Regions from separate parts of the Homo sapiens genome. Here region 2 is linked to region 1. Evidence: promoter capture Hi-C in human tissues and cell types (Jung and others, 2019). All regions are on one chromosome and are shown on one strand. The core of a region is centred on a gene start or on the middle of the fragment in contact, and the rest is flanking DNA. Distances in the headings are between cores, read along the strand shown. Region 1 holds the start of LGI2 (leucine rich repeat LGI family member 2). Region 2 has its middle 43 kb from the start of LGI2.

What was found. Contacts are between HindIII fragments. The study calls those that stand out against the background at their distance.
Region 2: a fragment that was not itself captured here is called in contact with the fragment with the promoter of LGI2 in region 1 in 3 of the 25 tissues and cell types used here (aorta, neural progenitor cells and thymus).

What each region holds. Positions count from the first base shown.
Region 1 is chr4:25,026,997-25,032,389 of GRCh38, forward strand. LGI2 (leucine rich repeat LGI family member 2) reads right to left here and starts at 3,950. Exons shown (of 8, transcript NM_018176.4): 1 at 3,501-3,950; 2 at 1,511-1,582. The coding sequence starts at 3,697. LOC124900684 (a long non-coding RNA gene) reads left to right here and starts at 3,112. Exons shown (of 2, transcript XR_007058083.1): 1 at 3,112-3,237. The HindIII fragment of the contact is 9,452 bases long and covers 802-5,393 here.
Region 2 is chr4:25,071,315-25,076,406 of GRCh38, forward strand. No RefSeq gene overlaps it. Among named protein-coding and RNA genes, the nearest start is that of LGI2, 43 kb to the left of the region's middle. The HindIII fragment of the contact is 3,960 bases long and covers 1-3,927 here.

The sequences.
Region 1 (5,393 bases), core at 2,700-5,199:
GCCATTTCTCTTTCCTTTGCTACGTTTTGATCTGTGGGCAAACATGAGCTCTTCTTAGCCTAAGGAGACCACATTTTGTTGTCAAAAACCTGATTCTCACAGCCTGCTCTTAGAGACGATGGCAAGTGGATTCCTTTTGACCAGATTTTCTTGTCCTCTCCAGAACTCTACTCCTTTCTTCCCTGTGTGTCTCAGTAAATATGATCTGATAGCTGTGACTTTAAAACATTATAATGCTCAGCACGACTAAACAGCCAGTGAATGCTTTATGGTACACAAGCAATCATAAAATTAGAGATCTAAAAAGATCTAATCCAAATCTATTTTTACGAAAATAAAAGCCCAGAGAAGCTAAGTGACTTGACCAAAGTCATGCAGCTGGACCCATAACAATAGTTAAAAAAAAAAAAAAAAAAGTTTGTTTAAGAAACTTTCAGGAGACTGTTACTACGTAGTTTTCTATTTGAGTCATCACCCAAGTCTACTGGCAAAAGAATACCTAAAATTGTATTTCTATTATATGAAAAGTATATTTTAATAGCACTGCAATTTCTAAGAGGCCTCAGATTTTAAAATGTTAAGTGTAATGTTAAAAGTAGGCATATAAGATTTCAAGAACAAAAGTATCAAGAGTATGTTTATTGAGGATGAATAGTGCTCTCCTATATTCCATTTATCCAAATTTTTCTATAGCACATTGCTTGTTTTAATTTCAGTCTCATCTCAAATTTAAGAAACCAACACAGATCAAGAGAATGAGGTGTGTACTCTTACTTTGCCTGTCACTGGATTGCTTTTGAAAACTACTTTTTGGACATTTGTTTTCATCAGCACACATTACCCAGCCTGGGTTACAGGGCACAACATGAGCATCACCACAGGGACTTGAGCATTGCTCACAGAGAGGAGATGGGATGAGGAATAGTTAGGAGTGTGGGCTTTTGGCCCTGGACTAGAATCTGGCTCTGATTTGGGACAAGTTAGTTAAGTTCCCTGAACCTCAGTTTCCTTATCTATCAAATGGGATCATAAGCATGCCTTCATCATACCGATGAAGTGATGATGAAATAAAATTACGCACGTAAGTTCATAGGATGCTGCCTGACTGGTTTAAGTTCTCAGCAAACTAGAAACACTCCTATTTCCAGAGTAACATTAAGATTTTAAAATGAAGTTTTCTTTTAAACTGAGGTGTTTGGGAAACAGTGCATTTAGGTGACTTTCAGGTCATGAGTCAATGCAATTACCTCCCCATTTACTAGATCTGGGTGTTGGGATCTACAATAAAGTCTCTGAAGAAAACAGGTATCGAACTAAGGAAAGAGCTGAGCAGGGAGCCTCAGTGCTTTGCTGGGGACATCACAGGGTAAATTAACACCAAGAGGCAGCCACGGTCTCCTCACGGAGCTGGGGTACTTTAGGAAGGGCTGATACCAAAGAGGCAGAGACGGCCCTCCAAGGATGGCACCTCAGGGCCCCCCATTGTGCAGAGGGAACTTCCCATACTCACAGCAGCTGCAGAGAAGGCAGATGGGAAAACATTCGGTCCTTGATTTCTGAAAACGTCCCATTTACCAGGCTCCTACGGGCAAAAGATGAACAAAAGTAGGCCTAGGTTTCTTTTAGGAAGTGCCATGCAGGGTGGGTAATCAAACTCTGCCTCCACCTGTACTTCAAACCCTGACTCTCAGGAGTGAGGCATAGCACAGTTGCCCAGGATCTTCCCCGGGGTAGGAATAAGAAGAGACAAGCCACTTCCCAATGAATCAGATCAATATGAAGACTAGTCTGAATAACAGAAACCTTTACCATCAGCTCCTTCCACAGACATTATCTCGGTCAGTTTAAATCAATCCCTTCACTTCCTTTTCTTAACTACAGGAGGTCCTTGCCTGAAAATGGATAATCGCTTCACCTCTGCCCATGATTCTGTTTGTGTAGACACAGCGTTGTGTTGGCCTATGAAATGCTGGGGTAGGATTAAGCATTCCTCTTGGGACCCCATCTCTGAAAGACAGAGCACTCCTGATTAAATGCAACATGAAAGCCCTGGGGAAAAACTCACAGACACCTGAACTCCCCTGTGTGGGGAGAGGCAGTACCATCTGCCAGATAAAACGGTCAACCAGGAGGCAAGATGCTTGGCTTTATTTCTGCCCCCAGGCCCCCATCCTTTCTGGCCACAGCAGGATCTGAATACATTATTTCAGAATTCCTTTCAGTTGGCATGCAGATCACTTAAGCAGCTGCTGGTCTGAAGGATTTAATAAGGGGAACTCTAATTTCTGGAATCCTCCATGTCACCCGACTTAGCAATATTAAGAATCAAAAAGGTCCTCTGTTCCCACCAGCCAAACTCTTCTGACTTTCTATAAATGCAAATGGGAACCCCCTCACTCCTGGGTCCAGGCCCCTACAATTTGCCTTGGGTGGGAGGCTGGGAAGCACTGGACACAAGAAAGTATCTTGAGCACAAGCAACGTCACCCCGGGGATTCCCTGCCTCCACCACTGACTGGGCACCCAGGCATCTTGGCCTGGAACAAGAGAGTGGTCTTAGCAGGAAACATGTCCTAGCAGTAAAGATACAGCCCAACAGCCCCTTCCACCGCCCTTGTGAGAGCTGGTCATTTGGCTTGAGTGGCCAGGTGAGGGCAGGATGAAAGCACCTCTCGGCAGGTGGATACCTAATGTGAAGCCCTTTCCTGTCAGTTCCTCCTGCTGAAAAAGCAGCCAACACAACTGTGTGATGGAGAAAGGGGGCAAGAAGCCCTCCTGACCTCAGGGCAAGAAGGCTGACTTCAAAGCACTTGGCCACTGGGCTAGGCGCCCAACATGCCCCAAACCTCTGCCCAGCCTTCTGTTACCCCTCTTCTAGGCCACGGGGGGCGGCCCCTCCCCTCCCAGAGCCTGCATGCCTTGACCTCGACTTTTTGCAACCTGCAATGTGGAGAAGTCGGGAGGAGGCCACGGGGTGAACATTCGCCCCAGACCTGATGTGGGGCAGTGAGGCCTCACCCTGCCCAGTTTGCACTCAGTCAGGTCGTGTTCAGCTGCTCCTATGCACGCCCCTACACACACAACTCCAACCCGCAAACACACACACACACACGCACACGCCCTCTCAAACTTTAATGCACCCTTGAGTCTCCCGGGGACGTCAAACGCACACTCCAGGACTCCACTCCAAAGACTGCTTCAGAGCAGCTGGATTCTGCATTGGCACAAGCTTCCCCAGGTGAGTCTGATGCAGGTGGCCCGTGGGCCACACTCTGAGAAACGCTGCCACAGGAACCTGTCTGGGTTCCCAGATTCTGGGGCTCAGGTCCTCACCGTCCTCCCCGGGGGCCAACACTCCACCCACGTCCCCCACACAAAGGCAAAGAAGGGGCCTGGGGAGTGGGTCAGGGTCGCGCTGGCCCGGCGCCAGAGGCAACTCCCTCGCGGCGGCGGACGCAGGGTGGGGCGGGACGGGATGGGGGCTGGAGGGGTCCCACTCACAGGGAGCTGATGTCGCCCGGCACGATCCTGGGCACCCAGGAAGAGCCCACGCAGATGATAGACTCCTTGGTACAGCTGCAAGTGGCGGGGCAGCGCGCCAGCCGCCTCACCTGCGCGCTCCGCGGTATCAGGCACGCGGCGCCCAGCAGCAGCAGCAGCAGCCCGAGCGCTCCGCAGCCGCCTCTCCGCAGCGCCATGCCCGGTCCCCGCTCCCCGCCCGGGCCCCGACCCCCACCGCCGCGCCGCGCGCTCGGACCCGGCGCCGCTGCAGACGCGGGCGCCGCTCGCTGCTCTGCCGCCGCCGCTGCTGGCGAGGACTAGGGAGCCGCGGGTGTGGGAGGCCGAGCCGCAGCCGAGCAGCATGCTGGCCGCCACCCCCACTCGGCGCCCCCCCACCCGAGCCCGGGCTGCTGGGCGGCCGCCGCCGCTGCGCCCGCCGCACTCGCGCCTGCCTGACATCAGCACTCGCGCCCGCAGCCCGGCTCTGGCCAATGAATAATGCATGGCGGGGCCCGCCCCGCGGGGGAGGGGGCCAGCGCCGGCCCCGTGGCGCCCCACCCGGCCCCCACCTCGCCACCCCCTCTCGCCCCGGGCCGGGCGCGGGGACAGAGGGAAAAGTTGGGTGACCTTGGGGGAGGGGCCAAGCCTGGCGGAGACCCCCGTCGGGGCCTGACTGAGCGGTGGAGGATCCGATGCCTGCAATACCTCCAGGGGTATAATCTGGGGAGGGCACTGGGTTCCTTTCAGGCAAATCAATAAAGTCGGAGCGGGGAGTGTGGAGAACCGGCTTGATTACTGGGGAGGGAGGCAGCCCTGGGTGCTTTGAAGAGGAGAGACTTTGGAGCAGCCTTTATTAATTTTGAAGTGCATGCTGCCGGTAGGGTCAGCGAGGATGGCTTTGCTTGTCTTCTGCGGTGGGGCAGTGAGGTCTGGCTCTCGCTCCCACAGCACCAGGGGTTACTGAAGCCAGCCAGTCCTCCCATGGGAGGAACGTGGGGAAGCAAAGCCGCTGCAGCCTGCACGCCCGGCGCTCTGGGCCCTGCCTGCTGCCTGCTAAAGAGCTGGAAAGCCCGGGAAAGTTTCCCCTCGCTCAGCTGCCCACGGGTCACCCCACCCGCCCCAGTCAGAGGAGGGTTTGTAGAGATTGAGGGTGTGATACATTCTAGCCACTGTACTTTTAATCTTCTAACCTTTTGAGGCAGGTCCTACTTATATCCTTAATTTATTGATGAGGCTGCTGACGCCCAGAAAGCATCCTGACTGGCTGATGGTCCAGCAGCTCCTGGCTGGGCAGGATGGGGCTCGGAGCCTTGAAGGGCTACCTTAACTGGGCCCTCCTGAGCCCCTCTTCAACTCCTTAAGTTTGAAGCAATGAGCGGAAATCTTAACACAGGTAATGTGCGGCTGAGGAAATCAAAGAAAATGACCAAAGCGGAAACAAAGTAATGGCTAATAACCTGAACTGCTGGGAGAAGGGAATCACAGCACGACTGTCGAGCTGCAAACCAAGGAAAAGCATGCCAGATGCTAAAACCTACTCAGAAAAGTCAGTATCGAATGCAAAAGTAGGAATCATACTATTGCTTCTTCAGCAATTATTGTTGGTGATCCATTGACAAGATCCATGAGGACGGTATCAGGCTGGCTGCTGTGGGAGGGAACAAAGGAACAGCTCCTGTCCTCAGGGAGCTAAAAGTCTAGCTGGACAGACAACCCTAAAAGAGCAACTCCACTGGCTACAAGGGGGTCACAGACTGACCAAAAGAGGTTCAGGAATTGAAAGAGAGCTTTGCGTAGGCAACTTCATGGAGGGAGTTAGACATTCCCTGCTGGTGACTATGTAAAAAGCACCTGGCATCAGTACAAACCAGCCTGCATTTATCATCATTTAAT
Region 2 (5,092 bases), core at 698-3,197, 42 kb after region 1:
AAATTAACCAGGTGTGGTGGTGGGTGCCTGTAATCCCAGCTACCTGGGAGGCTGAGGCAGGAGAATCGCTTGAAACCAGGCAGCCGAGGTTGCAGTGAGCCGAGATTGCACCACTGCACTTTAACCTGGGTGATAGAGCCAGACTCCGTCTCAAAAAAAAAAACAAAAAAAAAAAATGACACCAGCAAATCAGAAAGGAGGAGGTGTGGAGAGAACATAGAAGGAAGCTTCTCAGCGGGGACCTCTCACTAAAACAGAAATTCAGCTCCTCCCACACAGGCAAAGTGCAAGGAAAGCGGTTTCTTCTGTTCCCCCTTTTCTTTAGGGTGCCATTTTCTCTTCTGGCTCTTCCAGGCCTTCCTCCAACTTCATCTCCTTGGTGAGGCTCCAGGCACCTTGGGTCACTTCAGGGCTCCAGAAGGACAGACTCTGCAGAGGGGCAATGCTTAACCCACAGGAAGGGTGATTTGAATTAAGTCGTCCTGTTGTGTACGTTTACTAATGCTTCCAGAAATTCTAAGAGTAGATGGTATCAGCTCCTTTTTACAGATAAGGAGAGTAAAGCTCAGAGAGATTAACACCTTGCCCAAAGTCACAGAGGGACTCAGATACAAAACAGACACAACATGGCACCAAACATGGAAGAGGCCCTTGGCGAATGCTGACAGGCTTGGTTTCCCCTTAGCCATCCACCAGCTTTTGTATATTTATTGAACACTTACTGTGTACCAGGTGCAGTGCACAGTCTTTACTTGCATCTCCCAGTTGAGTCTCCCAATAGCCCTTTCACTATCCCCATTGTGGAGATGAGGAAACTGAGGCACAGAGACGTTAAGTATTCGATCCAAGCTGTCCCCAGCTGATAAGGGACAGAACCAGAGTTTGAGCCTGAGCCTGTGCCCTCCCTTAGCACTGCCAGACAAAATGCATGGTGCCCAGTTACATTTACATTTCAGATAAATAACAAATACTGTTTTCGTACAAATATACCCCAATATTGCATGAGACATACAAAAAAATGATTCACTGCTGATCTGAAATTCAAATGCAACTAGGCATCTGGTATTTTAGTTGCTAAATCTGGCCACCGTACTCTATTTCAATGCTTGAGTAAAAAATATTTACCTCTCTGTTCTGTGAGGTTCATAATGTGGAAAGTTTTCTAACATTTTCTTTTCACTCTTGTTGTTGCTCTACATCCAACTTCACTTTTCTAAGTTCCCAGATGTATGTTCTATCTCTGGGTCATTTTTCTACACTTTCCTCTTCAAAGTTTTAAAAAGGTTATCAAGCTCTCGGCTTGTTGTGATGAAACAGATTTTGATATAGAATAGAGAAGAAACATTCTGTTGAAACACTTTTTTAAAAACAGGAGATAGTAGTGGGTGATGTGCTAAGAAGAAATGACATTATGTTTAGACCAAAGACTGGGAGAAGCAGCCTTGCTGGGTGACAGCCAGTCGAGACAGCCTTTCCTAATGGATAGTGCAAGCATTGTTTGGGGACATTTACTGCAGAATACGATGGGGTAAAGGCACCAAAGGTGAACAAAATATCATCCTTCATAGGCAGAAAACACAGGCTGTGACAGGAAATAAATTGCTGGTGAAGCATCTCTTAAAGAAGAATAGGTTTAAATGTCTGCCTGACTTGAGGACCAGAGGCTCCTGGGATTTTTGTCAACTGGAGGGATGGAGCTCAGCAAAAGAAGCTTGTTTTATTTTTCTTTTGGGGAATAGCAAGATGTACAGAGGGTAGTTTGGTGTGGAGAGAGGGACATATGAAAATGCCTAGCTTTTTGTACAGAAGTAAGCAGTTTTTTAAGGCCATATATTTAACCTCAAATAGATACTTTGAGAGCAATGTGGACAACACAATAGCAGCAGAGTGTAATGCCAAGGCCACCAAATAGGGTATCAGAGAGAAGTGGGGTTGAATACTGACTCCAGTGGCTATTAGCTATAAAAAGTGATATGGTTTGGCTGTGTCCCACCCAAATCTCATCTTGAATTGTAACTCCCACAATTCCCATATATGTGGGAAGGACCCAGTGGGAGGTAACTGAATCATGGGGATGGGTCTATCCTGTGCTATACTCATGGTAGTGAATAAGTCTCACAACATCTGATGGTTTTAGAAAGCAGTTTCCCTGAACAAGTTCTCTTCTCTTGTCTGCCACCATGTGAGATGTGCCTTTCACCTTCTGCCATGATTGTAAGGCTTCCCCAGCCACGTGGAACTGTGAGTCCATTAAACCTTTTTCTTCATAAATTACCCAGTCTCAGGTATGTCTTTATCAGCAGTGTGAAAATGAACTAATACAGTAAGTCATTGGGTCTCTCTATATTAGGGTAGGATAGGCTTTGCTGCAGTAATAAAATTGCACAATATCTCAATTTGATTTCTTGTTCATGCCCCAGTTTGATGCAGGTTGGACACCAATTCTTGATGGCTCTGTCCAAGCAGGGACTCAAGATTCAGATTCTTCTCATGTTTTAACACTGCCACCTTAAATATGTAGCCTCTTAGGTTGCTGCAGAAGGGTGAAAGAGTGTGGGAGATAGCACAGGGGGTTACAGCCAGGCTTGGAAATGATATTCATCACTTCTGCCTATTTTCTATTGGCTAGAACCTAGTAGTATGGCCCCACCTACCCTGCATAGAGGCTAGAAAAGGTGGTCTTCCAGTGTGAGCACATAGAATTGTCTCTGCCACACTGCATGGTCATCTGTTCAGTGGAGGTTGCGATAGCACCTACTGAGATAGTTGCTCTGTAATTAACTGCTTAATCGAGGGTAGTTATAATTATTTGATTTTATTTGAGCTGTTATAGGAATAACTAATCTGTCATAAAATGAGGTCTGGGTTGCAGTCAGATTCAGAGACAGAAAGTAGAATGCTGGTTGCCAGGGGCTAGCAGGAGGGAGGAATGGGGAGTTATTGTTGAATGGGCACAGAGTCTCAGTTTTGCAAGATGAAAAGGTTCTGAAAATGAATAGTGGGTGTATTAGTGCATTTTCACACTGCTATAAAGAAATACCCGATACTGGGTAATTTATAAAGGAAAGAGGTTTAATTGACTCACAGTTCTGCATGGCTGGGGAAGCCTCAGGAAACTTACAATCATGGGGGAAGGCAAAGGGGATGCAAGCTTAGGCCTTCTCACATGGTGGCAGGAGACAGAAGAGTGAGCAAGAGCAAGAAAAACTGCCTTAGAAAACCATCAGATCTCTTGAGAACTCACTCACTATCACGAGAACAGCATGGGGGAAACCGGCTCATGATCCAATCACCTCCCACCAGGTCCCTCCCTCAACACGTGGGGATTATGTGGATTACAATTTAAGATGAGATTTGGGTGGGGACACAGAGTCAAACCATATCAATGGGGATGGCTGCACAACATTGCATATAGAGTTAATGCCACCAAGCTGTATAGGTAAAAATGATTAAAGTGGTAAATTTTATGTTACGTATATTTTACCAAGATTTTAAAAATTAAAAAAGTATATATATATATATATATATATATATATATATATATATATATATAAAATTAGGTCTGGATTAACTCCAGATATGGGTTAACCTGGCCCAGGGACAGGATGACGGCTCTCTAGTGGCATTTGTGTCAGACGGCAGTCTGGCTGGTTCTGGGCCTGAGCTACTGATGAAATTAAAGAAGTTTCAGATGGTTTGCTCTCTGTGCTTTAGGGAAACTTGGTATTTAAAGTTCTTCAAGTTTATCTTGAATGCAGTGTCACTTATCATTAAAAGGAAGGAAGAAGAAAGAAATTGTGATTCTTGTCTTCCTTCTCCCAGGCTCCCTAGTCTCAGAGTCTTACCTCTGCCCAGGTCACCTCAGGACTTACTTTCAGCTCCAACCCATCCAGCCATGGTTCACAGCCCTGACTGCACATCAGATTCACCTGGGGAGCTTTAGAAACAAACCGATGCCCAGGCCGCAGCCCAGTTCCATTCAGTCAGGCTCTCCGGGAGGCGCCTGGGCCCAGTGCTGTTTTAAAGGCTCCCCAGCTGATGTGACTGCATCTCCAGGGCTGAGAACCGCTGACTGCAGTCTGTTCTGGCTTCTTCCCGGCTGCGTCTCTGCAGAGCTGCTAAGAGCCGGGAGCTTCAGACAGATGCAGGCTGGAGACCCATCTCAGCCGCCCGTTCACTGAGTGGTCTTGCGCACACTGCATAACCTCTCTGTCTTCTCATATGTACAATGAGGGCAAAGAGAGCGGATAATTCGTGGGAAATGGTGCAGTTCCTGGCACACAGATTAAGTACTTAGTACTCAGTACTTGTTAGTGTGAACATTTCTTGTTACTATGACTTCCTAATGTGAGGACAAACTTGCCGTTTTCTCACAGGAATGATATGATTTGTATTTTGTAGCCTGCTCCACTGAGATCCCTAACTCTGTCAAAAGTGAGGAAGGAGCTACCTCTTTCCCCTCTGTTAAAGTGTCCCCCCCTTAGCCCGCATCCGCCCGTCACCTCTCTTCTCTTGACACATTCCTTTCCTTCCCTCAGATCATTCTAAATCCTATCAAGCAAAACCAAAAGAGAATATGAATAATCAAATACAGATCTCTGCCTAGCATGCACCTGCCATGAAGTGTGACAGGGCTGTTTTTACAGGAGGGGGTGGCTCTCTCCCCACGGCGGCTTGCAGGAATTTGTTCAGGCTGGCTTGAAGCTTAAGACTGTGGGGTAATAACGAGTTGGAACCAGCCTGAGTTAAACCAAGTCTGGTTCTTAATTTCCTTAAACAAACCCAATTCAGACAGGCTGAGGCAAGAGGCCACTTGAACTGTTGGGGGCATCAAGGCCGCTGGAGCAGCAGCTGGTGGAGGCTGGGATGGAGCTCCAAGAGCCTGCCCAGGGATGGCATGACCTAGAACTTGGTCAGAGTGGGAGGAGAGGCCCAGAAGCAAAATTACCAGAATCCTGTGGCCCCAGACATTGTGTGAGTTTTATTCTGGCACCATATTCACTTTATTTATTATATGTAAAATTAAATGCGAGTCAAGCCACCACCCACCAGGGTCCTTTGCTTGGGAAGAATCTTTTTCAGGGTTGAGTGG